Linked DNA regions of Homo sapiens: regions 1, 2 and 4 are each linked to region 3. Evidence: promoter capture Hi-C in 16 types of primary human blood cells and fetal thymus (Javierre and others, 2016). All regions are on one chromosome and are shown on one strand. The core of a region is centred on a gene start or on the middle of the fragment in contact, and the rest is flanking DNA. Distances in the headings are between cores, read along the strand shown. Region 1 overlaps MLLT10 (MLLT10 histone lysine methyltransferase DOT1L cofactor). Region 2 overlaps MLLT10 (MLLT10 histone lysine methyltransferase DOT1L cofactor). Region 3 holds the start of MLLT10 (MLLT10 histone lysine methyltransferase DOT1L cofactor). Region 4 overlaps MLLT10 (MLLT10 histone lysine methyltransferase DOT1L cofactor).

The links. Contacts are between HindIII fragments. The CHiCAGO score rates a contact against its expected background, and 5 or more counts as called.
Region 1: a contact is called between a fragment that was not itself captured here and the fragment with the promoter of MLLT10 in region 3, in 4 of 17 cell types (megakaryocytes, fetal thymus, endothelial precursors and 1 more). The highest score is 9.3, in megakaryocytes.
Region 2: a fragment that was not itself captured here is called in contact with the fragment with the promoter of MLLT10 in region 3 in 2 of 17 cell types (megakaryocytes and erythroblasts); the score reaches 5.4 in megakaryocytes.
Region 4: a fragment that was not itself captured here is called in contact with the fragment with the promoter of MLLT10 in region 3 in 1 of 17 cell types (megakaryocytes); the score reaches 5.9 in megakaryocytes.

The regions. Positions count from the first base shown.
Region 1 is chr10:21,733,719-21,736,418 of GRCh38, reverse strand. MLLT10 (MLLT10 histone lysine methyltransferase DOT1L cofactor) reads right to left here. Exons shown (of 23, transcript NM_001195626.3): 20 at 2,290-2,651; 21 at 1,184-1,280. All of the region lies in intron 1 of LOC107984214 (a long non-coding RNA gene), which reads left to right. Among named protein-coding and RNA genes, the nearest start is that of MLLT10, 200 kb to the right of the region's middle. The HindIII fragment of the contact is 3,312 bases long and covers 1-2,700 here.
Region 2 is chr10:21,717,090-21,719,973 of GRCh38, reverse strand. All of the region lies in intron 14 of MLLT10 (MLLT10 histone lysine methyltransferase DOT1L cofactor), which reads right to left. Among named protein-coding and RNA genes, the nearest start is that of MLLT10, 180 kb to the right of the region's middle. The HindIII fragment of the contact is 5,162 bases long and covers 1-2,884 here.
Region 3 is chr10:21,532,723-21,535,554 of GRCh38, reverse strand. It overlaps MLLT10 (MLLT10 histone lysine methyltransferase DOT1L cofactor), which reads right to left and starts at 1,323. Exons shown (of 23, transcript NM_001195626.3): 1 at 1,035-1,323; 2 at 751-910. The coding sequence starts at 910. RefSeq lists enhancers at 1-325, 1,041-1,754 and silencers at 386-475, 616-955, 1,066-1,135, 1,146-1,675. The HindIII fragment of the contact is 10,036 bases long and covers 1-2,832 here.
Region 4 is chr10:21,676,117-21,679,011 of GRCh38, reverse strand. The region is part of intron 11 of MLLT10 (MLLT10 histone lysine methyltransferase DOT1L cofactor); the gene reads right to left. Among named protein-coding and RNA genes, the nearest start is that of MLLT10, 140 kb to the right of the region's middle. The HindIII fragment of the contact is 759 bases long and covers 919-1,677 here.

The DNA of each region.
Region 1 (2,700 bases), core at 92-2,591, 200 kb before region 3:
CAGCTACTCGGGAGGCTGAGGCAGGAGGATCACTTGAGCCCAGGAGATGGAGGTTGCAAGGAGCCCAGATTGTGCCACTGCACTCCAGCCTGGGCGACAGAGCAAAACTCCCTCTCAAAAATATACATATATATACCACAATTCCAGGCAGTTTTCAATACGTAGCCCATACTATTTTAACACCTACGTCTCCTGCCTGGATCACTCCCTTTTTCCACTTTTGCCTCTGTCTTCACTCCCCCACACCCTATAACACACACAGACTATTCTCCATATAGCAGCAAAACTAATCCTTTAAAATGTAAATCATTATTTCACTATTCTGTTCAAAACCTTCCAATTCTTAATCCTGAAAAAAATGGAGAATGAAATGAGATAAACAAAACTAAGATTATTAGCACTGGGTGAGAGAATGGAATGAGGCGTACATAGGTCTTCAGGGTGCTCTCCACTCTACTTTTGGTACACTTGAAATCCTCCGTAATAGATTTTTAAAAACTCGCCAGTGGCTTTCCATTCATACTTAAGATAAAATCCAAATTTCTTGCCACAGCCAAGAAAGGCTGTATGCGATCATCTAAGACCACCCCCTTGGCTCTGACCTCTCCCACCCTCTGACCACATGGCTGCTGACTTCTCTTCCGAACACAAGTACGTCCAGACCTTTGACAGCAGCTGCCCCTTTACCTCCAACGTGCTTTCTCTCTGCGTTCCCTCAAGTCACAAAGGCACACTCCCTGAACTCTCACATCGGTCTGTGCTCAAAAGTCACCCCCCTTGCAGAGGCGGGGCCATCCTATCTAAAATGGTCCTCGGTTCCCTATGCTCTTCCCCACTTATTCCACTTCTTTGTTCTTCTCAGTATTTATCACAACCAAAAAGCGTGCATCGTGTCCATCCATCTCCCGTATCAAAATGAAGCTCCGGGAAAACACGCACCACATCTCAGCACTGTGTTACCAGAGCCTATGGCAGCACCATGCCACGTGCCCTGTCACTTTTAAGTTCAGGAATGAATGTGACATCACTGCAGGTATCACAGCCTGTACCACATGGCAAGAAAAACTTTTTTGATTATGCATTCAATAATGTTATTTCACAAAGGAGAAATCTGTACCCACAGTGAATATTACAGCTTAGAACACATGCTCCTAATAAGATATTATCAAAAGAAAGAACTTACTGGTGTGAGCTGTTGAGAATTTAACAACTGCTGAAACTGCTGTTGATGAATAAGTATTTGTCGTTGCTGGTCAGAAAGTAATCCTAGTCCTGAGGCACTGAAAAATGATTACAATTCTTACTTTTTACTACACACCTCTAATGCATTTTTAGAAGTCTAAAAATGAAAGACAACTTTTCAATTTGATGTTTAATAACTTAAGTACAATTCTGAATCCAAACACTCTGAAAACAGTTATGTACAATTTCTATATATATGTATGTTTATATACATCCATGTGTACAGCTAAACAAGAATTCACATTGTCAAGAAATGTTTTTATTATAAAACAAATAGGCCCTAACTCATTTTATGGAATAGAAATTTACATGTGTTTCTAACAAGCGTATGTAATAATTTATCTTTAATTATTCAAGGATAATTTAACTCACACTAAGTAAACACATATTTGAAACAAAGAATCCAAACATACCACTGATTTGACCTATCCTTTTCTAATGGTCCCAATGGTAAAACTAAACACCAAGGAAGAGAGCTACAGGAAATAGCTTTCTAGTACCCACTGCAAATCCATTTAAAAGTATTTATTCCCCCAAAAGTATGCTTAATAACAACATAGCTTTAGTCCCCTAGTTTTGAACAAACATTCAAATGCAGTTCCAGTACAATGAAACCAGTGAGTCTCACTTCCTGGGAATTCAGATAAATGACCTTTATCCTATATCAAAATCTTTGATTAGAACATTAAAAATATTACATAAATTTTAGGAAACTAATATTCATGTTATCTCCACTACGATATCTTTCTTCAGAATTTATGATACAGTATACAAAGAAATAAGAAAAACTAGTATTTAAAAACAGACATCACAGATTAAGACTAATTTTCAGCACAGAACATAATGCTGTTACTAAAAGTAACTTAATTTTAATCTAAATTACTTAAGTTTCAAAAATAAATGTACTCTGTATAATATACTTAAAATTTTTGGCAGACTTCTTAAGGTGTATCTACAAAGGAACACATTGAAAGCCCCAATCTAAGGCATAGACAACACCGGTACTCTGTTATACTAAAAAACCCAAAACATACTTAAGTTTCTTACCTGTTAGTCAGTGTAGCTGGCATTGGATGTGTTGCATTAGGTGGTACGGTTGTGTGGGTGAGAGGGGTAGGGTTCTGGGACATTGTGACAGGAGTCTGCATAACCCCATTTAAAGCTCCTACAATGCCATTAATTGCCAGTTGGTTACCTGGCAAAGCTCCAATTATTCCACCCACTGCAGACACGGCAGGAATGGTGGAAGTTACAGGCTGCATTCCACTAGCTAGTGCCCCCACTGTCACGCCATTGACCTGCTGAACTCCACTCACTCCTGAGCCTTGTTGAGCCGGACTCTGCCCAGCAGGAGGTGGGGTAGAAAGAGCTGATGAGCTGCTGGTACTTTGTCCACTGGAGGTTAAGTCCTAGCGTAAGAAAGAAGAGAAACTAAGTCCACTGGACATTAAGTCCCAG
Region 2 (2,884 bases), core at 177-2,676, 180 kb before region 3:
AAGACCTTAATCCACAGCTGAATATATATACTGGCTAAAATTCATTTATCTATGTTAGCATGAATTATATGAGTTTTAACAGAAATTGTTAATACTATTTCCAATACAGGAAGTGTTCCTGTACAATTTCTCACTGGTAATTAGGCTGAAGAGTAACAGTTGAAGTCAATAACCATGAATTCTAAAGTATTTTATGGTCTGCATTTGAACCTCATAAAGTATCTGTATAGCAGGTAGAACAGGTACTTAAAGTATTCCCATTTTACATATGGAAACATTGAGGCTCACAAAAATTAAAAGACCTGCCCAAGGTTATACAAGTGAGTAGCAAAACTCCTGGAACCCAGGACTTTTGCTGACTCAAATTTCTCTCTTCTGCATTGCATCACACAAATGAACACAGTAAAATTACTAACAACGTTTTCCAAGGAGATACCTCTTAGCATAAGAAGTACATAATTGGGAAATTCATTTTAACAGTAACAATTAGTAATAAGAGAGCAGGCTAAGGAATCATGTCTTAATTCCAGACTTACAGATATGTGACTGTGACTGAACCTTTTCATCATCTGGTAACAAGAGATGTTACCAAGGTTATGAAAACTGATTTTCCTCAGAAAGGTAATTCCCTTAAAATTATAAGTCATTATATTATTGAAATCAGAAGAAATTTACATTCTGACTAATTAAGTATAAACATAAATATCACCCCAGAAGTCAGTTAAATCTGCCTGAGAAACGAAACCATTTTCTCAAGCAGAATTAAAGTGTCCTTATTAGACATCATCTGAAAAGAAATCGGAGACTACATCTTAGACAACTTCCCCTACATAAACACACACATACATAATCATATTGGAAAACAAAATATTCGAAGCTAATTGAGATGAAAGTGTCACAGAAATCTGCAAAACTCTAGTCACTAAATTGTATGTTTAAAATACAGAAATATGCCCAGGCGAGGTGGCTCACGCCTGCAATCCCAGCACTTTGGGAGGCCAAGGTGGGTGGATCATGAGGTCAGGAGTTCGAGACCAGCCTGGCCAACATGGTGAAACCCCATCTCTACCAAAAACACAAAAATTAGCCAGGCGTGGTGGTGCACGTGTGTAGTCCCAGGTACTCAGGAGGCTGAGGCAGGAGAATCACTTGAACCTGGCAGGGGCAGAGTTTGCAGTGAGCCGAGATCGTGCCATTGCACTCTAGCCTCGGCAACAGAGTGAGACTCCGTCTCAAAAAAACAAACAAACAAACAACAACAAAAACACGAAATATCTGCATTTCCTAAATATCACATAAATAAACCTTGGAAGTTTATTTTACTTTAAATGTTAAGTCTACATCATTTTGTTTAACAGTAACATGGGATAGACAAGAAGCCATGATTATCACATGAAGATTGTATTTCAAACGCAAAACTCAGAAAGTAGGATGTAACGGAATGCAATTATGTTTCATTGCATTCAGTCTTAAGTTCTTCTACTAAAGAAATCATCCTTCAAACCAAAAAAAAAGCACCTGCATTCTCCCAAAGACAGTACAGAATGACTGCAGAACTAGGAAACAGCAGGATTTGAAAGGCAAAATGAAAAATTAATGACACTCCTACAGAAACTAATTTATACCTCTACCCTGATCCATGATTAACAGTCACATGGACAGGAGTCCGCTCTTCCCGCAATGTTAAGAAACTACTCTATTACTAATATACTAGTATGTAGTAAAGCAGGCTTCCTATCAATTATTTGTGAAAGAGCCATTACTCTAAAAACTAGTCTGTTGAAAGGGGGAAAAAAAAAAGGGTTTAACACTTAAGAATATAAAATAGAGGCCGGGCGCAGTGGCCCACACCTGTAATCCCAGCACTTTGGGAGGCCAAGGTGGGCAGATCACCTGAAGTCTGGAGTTCGAGACCAGCCTGACCAACATGGTGAAACTCCATCTCTATCAAAAATACAAAAATTAGCCAGGCGTGGTGGCGGGCACCTGTAGTCTCAAAAAGAAGAAAGAAGAAGAAAGAAGAAGAAAGAAGAAAAGAAGGAGAAGAAGAAGGAGAAGGAGAAGGAGGAGGAGGAGGAGGAGGAGAAGGAGGAGGAGAAGGAGGAGGAGAAGGAGGAGGAGAAGGAGGAGGAGAAGGAGGAGGAGAAGGAGGAGAAGAAGGAGAAGAAGAAGGAGAAGAAGAAGAAGAAGAAGCAGCAGCAGCAGCGGAGGAGGAGGAGGAGGAAGAGGAGGAGGAAGAGGAGGAGGAGGAGGAGGAAGAGGAGGAGGAGGAAGAGGAGGAGGAGGAGGAGGAGGAAGAGGAGGAGGAAGAGGAGGAGGAAGAGGAGGAGGAAAAGGAGGAGGAGGAGGAGGAAGAGGAGGAAGAAGAGGAAGAAAGAAGAGGAAGAGGAAGAAAGAAGAGGAAGAGGAAGAAAGAAGAAGAAAGAAGAAGGGAGGAGGAGGAGGAGGAGGAGGTGGTGGAGGAGGAGGAGGAGGAGGAGGAGGAGGAGGAATATAAGAATATAAAATCAAACAGTTTTTTAAAGGTTTTTTCCCCAAAATGTATGCTGCTATCAGACTCCCCTCCCCACCCCCCACCCGCCAATTTTACAAGTATCTCCTTTTCCCAGCACAAATCAAGTTTCAAGTTATTCTAAGTTTTTAACTTCTACTAGCCCTTCCCAATCTTATCTCCTTGACCACTTTCCAGGGAACAATTTTTTTTTTTTTTTTTTTTTTTTGAGACGGAGTTTCGCTCTTGTTGCCCAGGCTGGAGCGCAATGGCGTGATCTTGGCTCACCGCAACCTCTGCCTCCCAGGTTCAAGCAATTCTCCTGCCTCAGCCTCCCGAGTAGCTGGGATTACAGGCATGCACCACCGCGCCCGGCTAATTTTGTATTTTTAG
Region 3 (2,832 bases), core at 74-2,573:
ATAAACTAAGAGGCTCCCCAAAAGTGACTTGGCACCGCCACCTCTTCAGCCACCTAGGCTGGTGGTGGCCTGCCGCGGCCACCCCACAGGCGCTGCAGCAGCCCCGCCACTCCCGCATGGTCAGCAACGGACTCCGCCATCTCCTCCGCAGACAGCTACCGGGCGGCGGCGGCAGGGCCCGAGCCTTCTGGCTCGGGGTGCAACGGGCCCCGCATCCCTCCCCATCTAAAGAGGCAAGGCGACCCCCAGCCTCCCCACACTGGCGCCGCGTTCCCGAGCCCGTCTCCACGCCACAGGAAGTCTCCAAACACTGCGGCAGACAGGCGGCTGCAGGCCAGGGGAGAAGAGGGCGCTCCACTCTCCCAAACCCACCCCCGTGGCCCCGGGAACCCCGGGAAGGGCGCGCACCGCCCCCGCCCCCGCCCCCGCCCCCACCCCGGCCCAGATCTCGAGGGCGCGGCCGCCGCCCTGCCCCGCCCCGCCCCGCCGAGTCAGCAGACCCCGGCCCCAGGCGCAGGCGGCGGCCGAATGACACTTGAGAGAGTGAGAGCGGAATCACATGACAGTCCGGGCCACACGCACTTTCTCCCACATGCGCGGCCCACACCCCCCGCGCCCCGCCGCGGACCCTCCGCGTCCCTCCCGCGGCCGCGGCACGGGGCGGGGGCGCCGGCGGTTGCGGCCCAGGTGGGGGCGGCGGTGACCGTTGGGCGCAGGCCGGCGCGCCCCGGCGGGCGGTTGGGTGTTTACCTTGATGCACCGCGACGCTGCAGCCGTGCCCGTCGCAATAAACCAGCGGGTTCTCGGCCCAGCCTCTCTCGTCTGAGCAAACGCAACAGCCTCCAATCATCTCCTTCATACTATGGGAGACCTCGTCCTCCAGTGACACGGGCCGGTCGCTAGAGACCATCTAAGAGGGAGTTGGGGGGACCATTAAAAAACACATGCAAGCCGATTAGTGCTTCCCCCCCACACAGCCCCCCGAGCCCGCCCCGGCGCCCCCCGCCCGGCCCGGCAGCCCACCGCTCGCTCACTCGGGCTTTGCCGCTCAGTCACTCACGTTCCGCACAGGAGTCAGGAGCCATGTCCTTGCTGATTCCCCCCACCTCCCCTCCACCGCCTCCTCCGCCTCCTCCTCCTCCTCAGCGTCTTCCCTCCCCACCTCCACCCGGCCGCTAACGCGGGCGCCCGGAGAGGGCACACATAATCAAGAGGGCCTCCGCACAGGCGCACTGGGGGGAGGGGGGGCTCCCGCTGGGCCAGGGGCAGCGAGGGAGGGGAAGGGGGCTGCGCTTCCTCCTCGGAGCGTCACTTGGCGTGCGCGCCCGTCCTGCGGCCGGCGTGAGGGAGGAGGCCTGGGCGAGGCTAGCCCTGCGTGCGCGCTGCCGCGGCCTGTTGGCTGCCCCCGGCCTACCTCCGGGGCCCCGTCCCCCTCCCCCGCGCCGCTCGCCGCCGCCGAGGTGTGCTGGGGGTGGGCGCGAGGGGAGCCGGCGGCGCGCGGAGGCCGGAATGAACGGGCGCGGGGGCGCGCACGCGGGGGCGGGGACGTTAGGGCCGCCCTCTGCAGCGCTGGTGGCGCGGGCCGCGTGTGAGCGTCGGGAAGAGGCCTGGGAGGTGGCGGGGGAGGTGGACGCCCAGGGCTGGGAAGGGGTTTTCTCAGAATCGCCAGAGGGGAGTCCCCGGGGGCATCATCTCCGTGCCCTGGGAACCTACCTGCTGGCCTTTTCCTCCAAGACTGGCCCGTGGAAAACGAGGGTGGGGCGAGTGTGCCAGCTTCCATGAAGGGTGTAATGAAGCATGGCTTCCTGCAGTTGGCCGCGCTAACTTCACAGTGCTGCCGCAGCCACTCCACCCATTAAATTCACGTCCTGGACTCTTCCCAAAGTTCACCCGCTGGAAGTCCTACCAAATCTGCCGCCCATTTTCGCACTACGTGGGCCCCAATGACAAACGAAAGTGTATTCCAGGCTGAAGGTCAAAAGCCTGTGTTAGGGCTGCACTCGGAGAGGGAACGCCAAGGCGCCCCTCAGCTCGGTGTGCAGGACAAATGGTGGTTTATCCGGAATTAGCAATATAATACGATGATCCGGAAAATGCAGTTGTATTACACCAAAAGGAAGAAGGAACTCTAGCCCTCCTAGTCAGTCGCTAAAACATAATTAACGCCATCAGACAGTGGCGTCCAGTTTTGATGGAGGATTCCTCTGATCCGGGTCTTTTCTCCAAATTTATACTTGGAAATGTGAGGTCATTTAAAAGTGGCAGAAAGATGAGAGCTCCCACCTCACAAACAAATGGAAAATGGATTAGGCCTATCTGCATAGATTAATTAGCTGGATGCTGAGCACTTTTAAACTAAAATCTTCCACTGTCTGCCTATTCCTTATGCATCCGTAAAGCCCAATATTGATGTTTAAGCAAAAAATGTCTAATTAGAAAAGTTTCGCATGAAATCAGAATTATGCATAGATTGTTTAAATGACAAGCCCAGTTAAAAGGCGAATTCATGACTTTTGATTAATACCTTGCAGGTACAAAATGGTTCTTTATCAGCAATTCGCATTATAAATGTGCTGATCTGGAAGATGCACTTTCACAGTGCTAAAGCATAGAGAACCCAAGTTCTCCTAGTCGGTCGCCAAAAGATAATATAATGGTTTGGGCTTTAAAAGCCTTCTAAATGTTCTTCTGATAAAGGGGGGTTAGAAAAGGTATCATGGCTGTTTTTCTATTTCAAATTAATTGCTAGAAATCTGTGTAAGAGTGATAATAGGTATACAGCACAATGAGAGCATATATAGCAAATTCAGATGTTTTAAAAGCTGAGATATA
Region 4 (2,895 bases), core at 49-2,548, 140 kb before region 3:
TGTCATGAGAGAATTTTGATTACTATTAAAACTGATGCTTTTAGCCAATAATTTCAAGAGGGAATCACATTAGAACCTGACTCTACTCCTGCTTTACATCCTAGTTGTAAAGGAGAAATAACAACATCAAGAGGAGCTGTCCTATTTCACAAGGCTGTTCCAAGGATCAAATGAGAGAGTAACTAAAGAGTTCCTAAGAAACTTAAACGTACTCAAATAAGAGATTATATTAGCATTGCCAAGCTGAATGAGATAGCATTTTTTTTCTTTTCCATTAATGAAATTCTTTCATAATGGTAACTAGCCAGAATAGTTATTTTAAGAAAAAGATCATTAGCCTATCAGTTTGATTTCTTCAGTCTGGCATTAATCTCTCAATGAACCCATCCTACCCTATAAACATCACCTTCACAGTGCCACAAATACAAGCTTCCTGTTCTTATTAGGCTTTTCCCTCAAACAGACCTTTACTTTCTTTTCAGGTAATATTGGCCTTCGTCTTCTGCCTACTTCAAAGTACAATTCAACCTCTCCATGATCTTTTCCAACTTAATAATACTTTTCATCATAAACTGGCAAAATAAATACTACATGAAAAGCTTTAAAAATAGCTGGGCCCAGTGGCTCACACCTGTAATCCCAGCATTTTGCGAGGCTGAGGCAGGTGGATCATGAGGTCAAGAGATGGAGACTGTCCTGGCCAACATGGTGAAACCCTGTCTCTATTAAAAATACAAAAATTAGCTGAGTGTGGTGGCGCGCACCTGTAGTCCCAGCTACTAGGGAGGCTGAGGCAGGGGAACTGCTTTAACTCGGGAGGCAGAGGTGGCAGTGAGCTGAGATCAGGCCACTACACTCTAGCCTGGTCAATAGAGCAAGACTCCAGCTCAAAAAAGAAAAGAAAAGAAAAGAAAAGCTTTACAAATAAAGTAATATGTCTTACAGCTTAGCTATAAACACTCAGAGGGGAAGTACAAAATCATACAGCATACTTCTAACCACATGACATACACTCACGAGACAACTAATGGTATTCATTCATTTCTTAAAATAATGTTTAACGTTTACTATGTCCAAAGCACTGTGCTGGCAGTGGGGATACAGTGGTGTATGTCAGAAACAGCCCCTAGCCTCAGGAGTTAGTATTATAGTGAATGTTATAGTTTAAACAACAGGTGCTTACAAAGGTCATCTTCGACATTACTAAATTATCGACCTGTCATTCAAGAAAGTCAATCTTTTAAAAACAGCATCATGAAAAACAACTTGTGATGATGTAATACATAATACAGTTGTCTTCTGTGTCTGTGGGATTCCACATCTGGGGATTCAACACCCTTGTATAGAAAATATTTGGAGGAAAAAATTGAGTCTGTACTGAATGTGTACAGACTTTTTTTCCTGTCATGATTCCCTAAGCAATATAGTATAACAACTATTTGCATAGCATTTACATGATACTAGGTATTATAAGAAATCTAGAAAAGAATGATTTAAGTACACAGGAAGATGTGCATAGGTTATATGAAAATACTATGACGTTTTATAACAGGAACTTGAGCATCTTGGACTTGGGTATTTATTTGCAGGAGGTCCTGGAACCAAGTCCCCATGGATGCCAAAGGATGACTGTATACATTTTCTCCTTCCTACTTATTTATTATATGGGGGGAAGCTTCTTGTTGTCACAATTACTAAATGATTTCTCAATTTCAAATTAGTCCAAAGGAAAAATTAACTTTTCATACCAATAAGAAACACTATTGCTGAAAGTTAAATTATTGGTTCAAATTTGTTCAGGGATCTCTTTGCTTAAAGTATGACTGACATTACACTAGTGTGGTGTTAGACCCTCATCAGCAAACATCTGTTGAGCTGTCTAATTAAATGGCTCTGGACCCAGGGAAAATGCATATCTCCATCACTTAAAACCTAAGAGAATTCTGTCTCAGTTTCTTGTCCTATATAATGAGTAATAACACTTAATGCTTATTAACTGCTTAACACAGTGTGTGGCACATACTAAGTGTTCATCAGCAGTTAGCAATTCTTAACTTACTATGATTAAAGCAGCACATGAAGCCAAGCCTCTTCTAGATAAGGATACGCTTTTTACTATTGTCAATAAATGTTCTGCACTAAGTCCTAAAATGTTTATTAACATACATAAAACTAAAGAATATATCTCAAAGAGTTTTCAATAATCTTATTCCATGATTATAGCTTTAACAAGACATAAAATATCTTCAGAGTAATTTTTTTTTTTTTTTTTTTTTTTTTTTTTTTTTTTTGAGATGGAGTCTCGCTCTGTCTCCCAGGCTGGAGTGCAGTGGCCCGATCTCGGCTCACTGCAACCTCTGCCTCCCGGGTTTAAGCGATTCTCCTGCCTCAGCCTCCCTAGTAGCTGGGACTACAGGTGCGTGCCACCACGTCTAGCTAATTTTTCTATTTTTAGTAGAGACCGGGTTTCACCATGTTGGCCAGGACGGTCTAGATCTCTTGACCTCAGGTGACCTGCCCACCTCGGCCTCCCAAAGTACTGGGATTACAGGCGTAAGTCACCATGCCCAGCCCCAGAGTAATTTTTTTTTTTTGAGACGGAGTCTCGCTCTGTCGCCCAGGCTGGAGTGCAGTGGTGTGATCTCTGCTCACTGCGAGCTCTGCCTCTCAGGTTCACGCCATTCTCCTGCCTCAGCCTCTCCGAGTAGCTAGGACTACAGGCACCCGCCACCATGCCGGGCTACTTTTTTGTATTTTTAGTAGAGACAGGGTTTCACCGTGGTCTCCATCTCCTGACCTCGTGATCCACCCACCTCAGCCTCCCAAAGTGCTGGGATTACAAGCATGAGCCACTGTGTGCGGCCGCCCCAGAGTAATTTTTAAACACAACGTTTT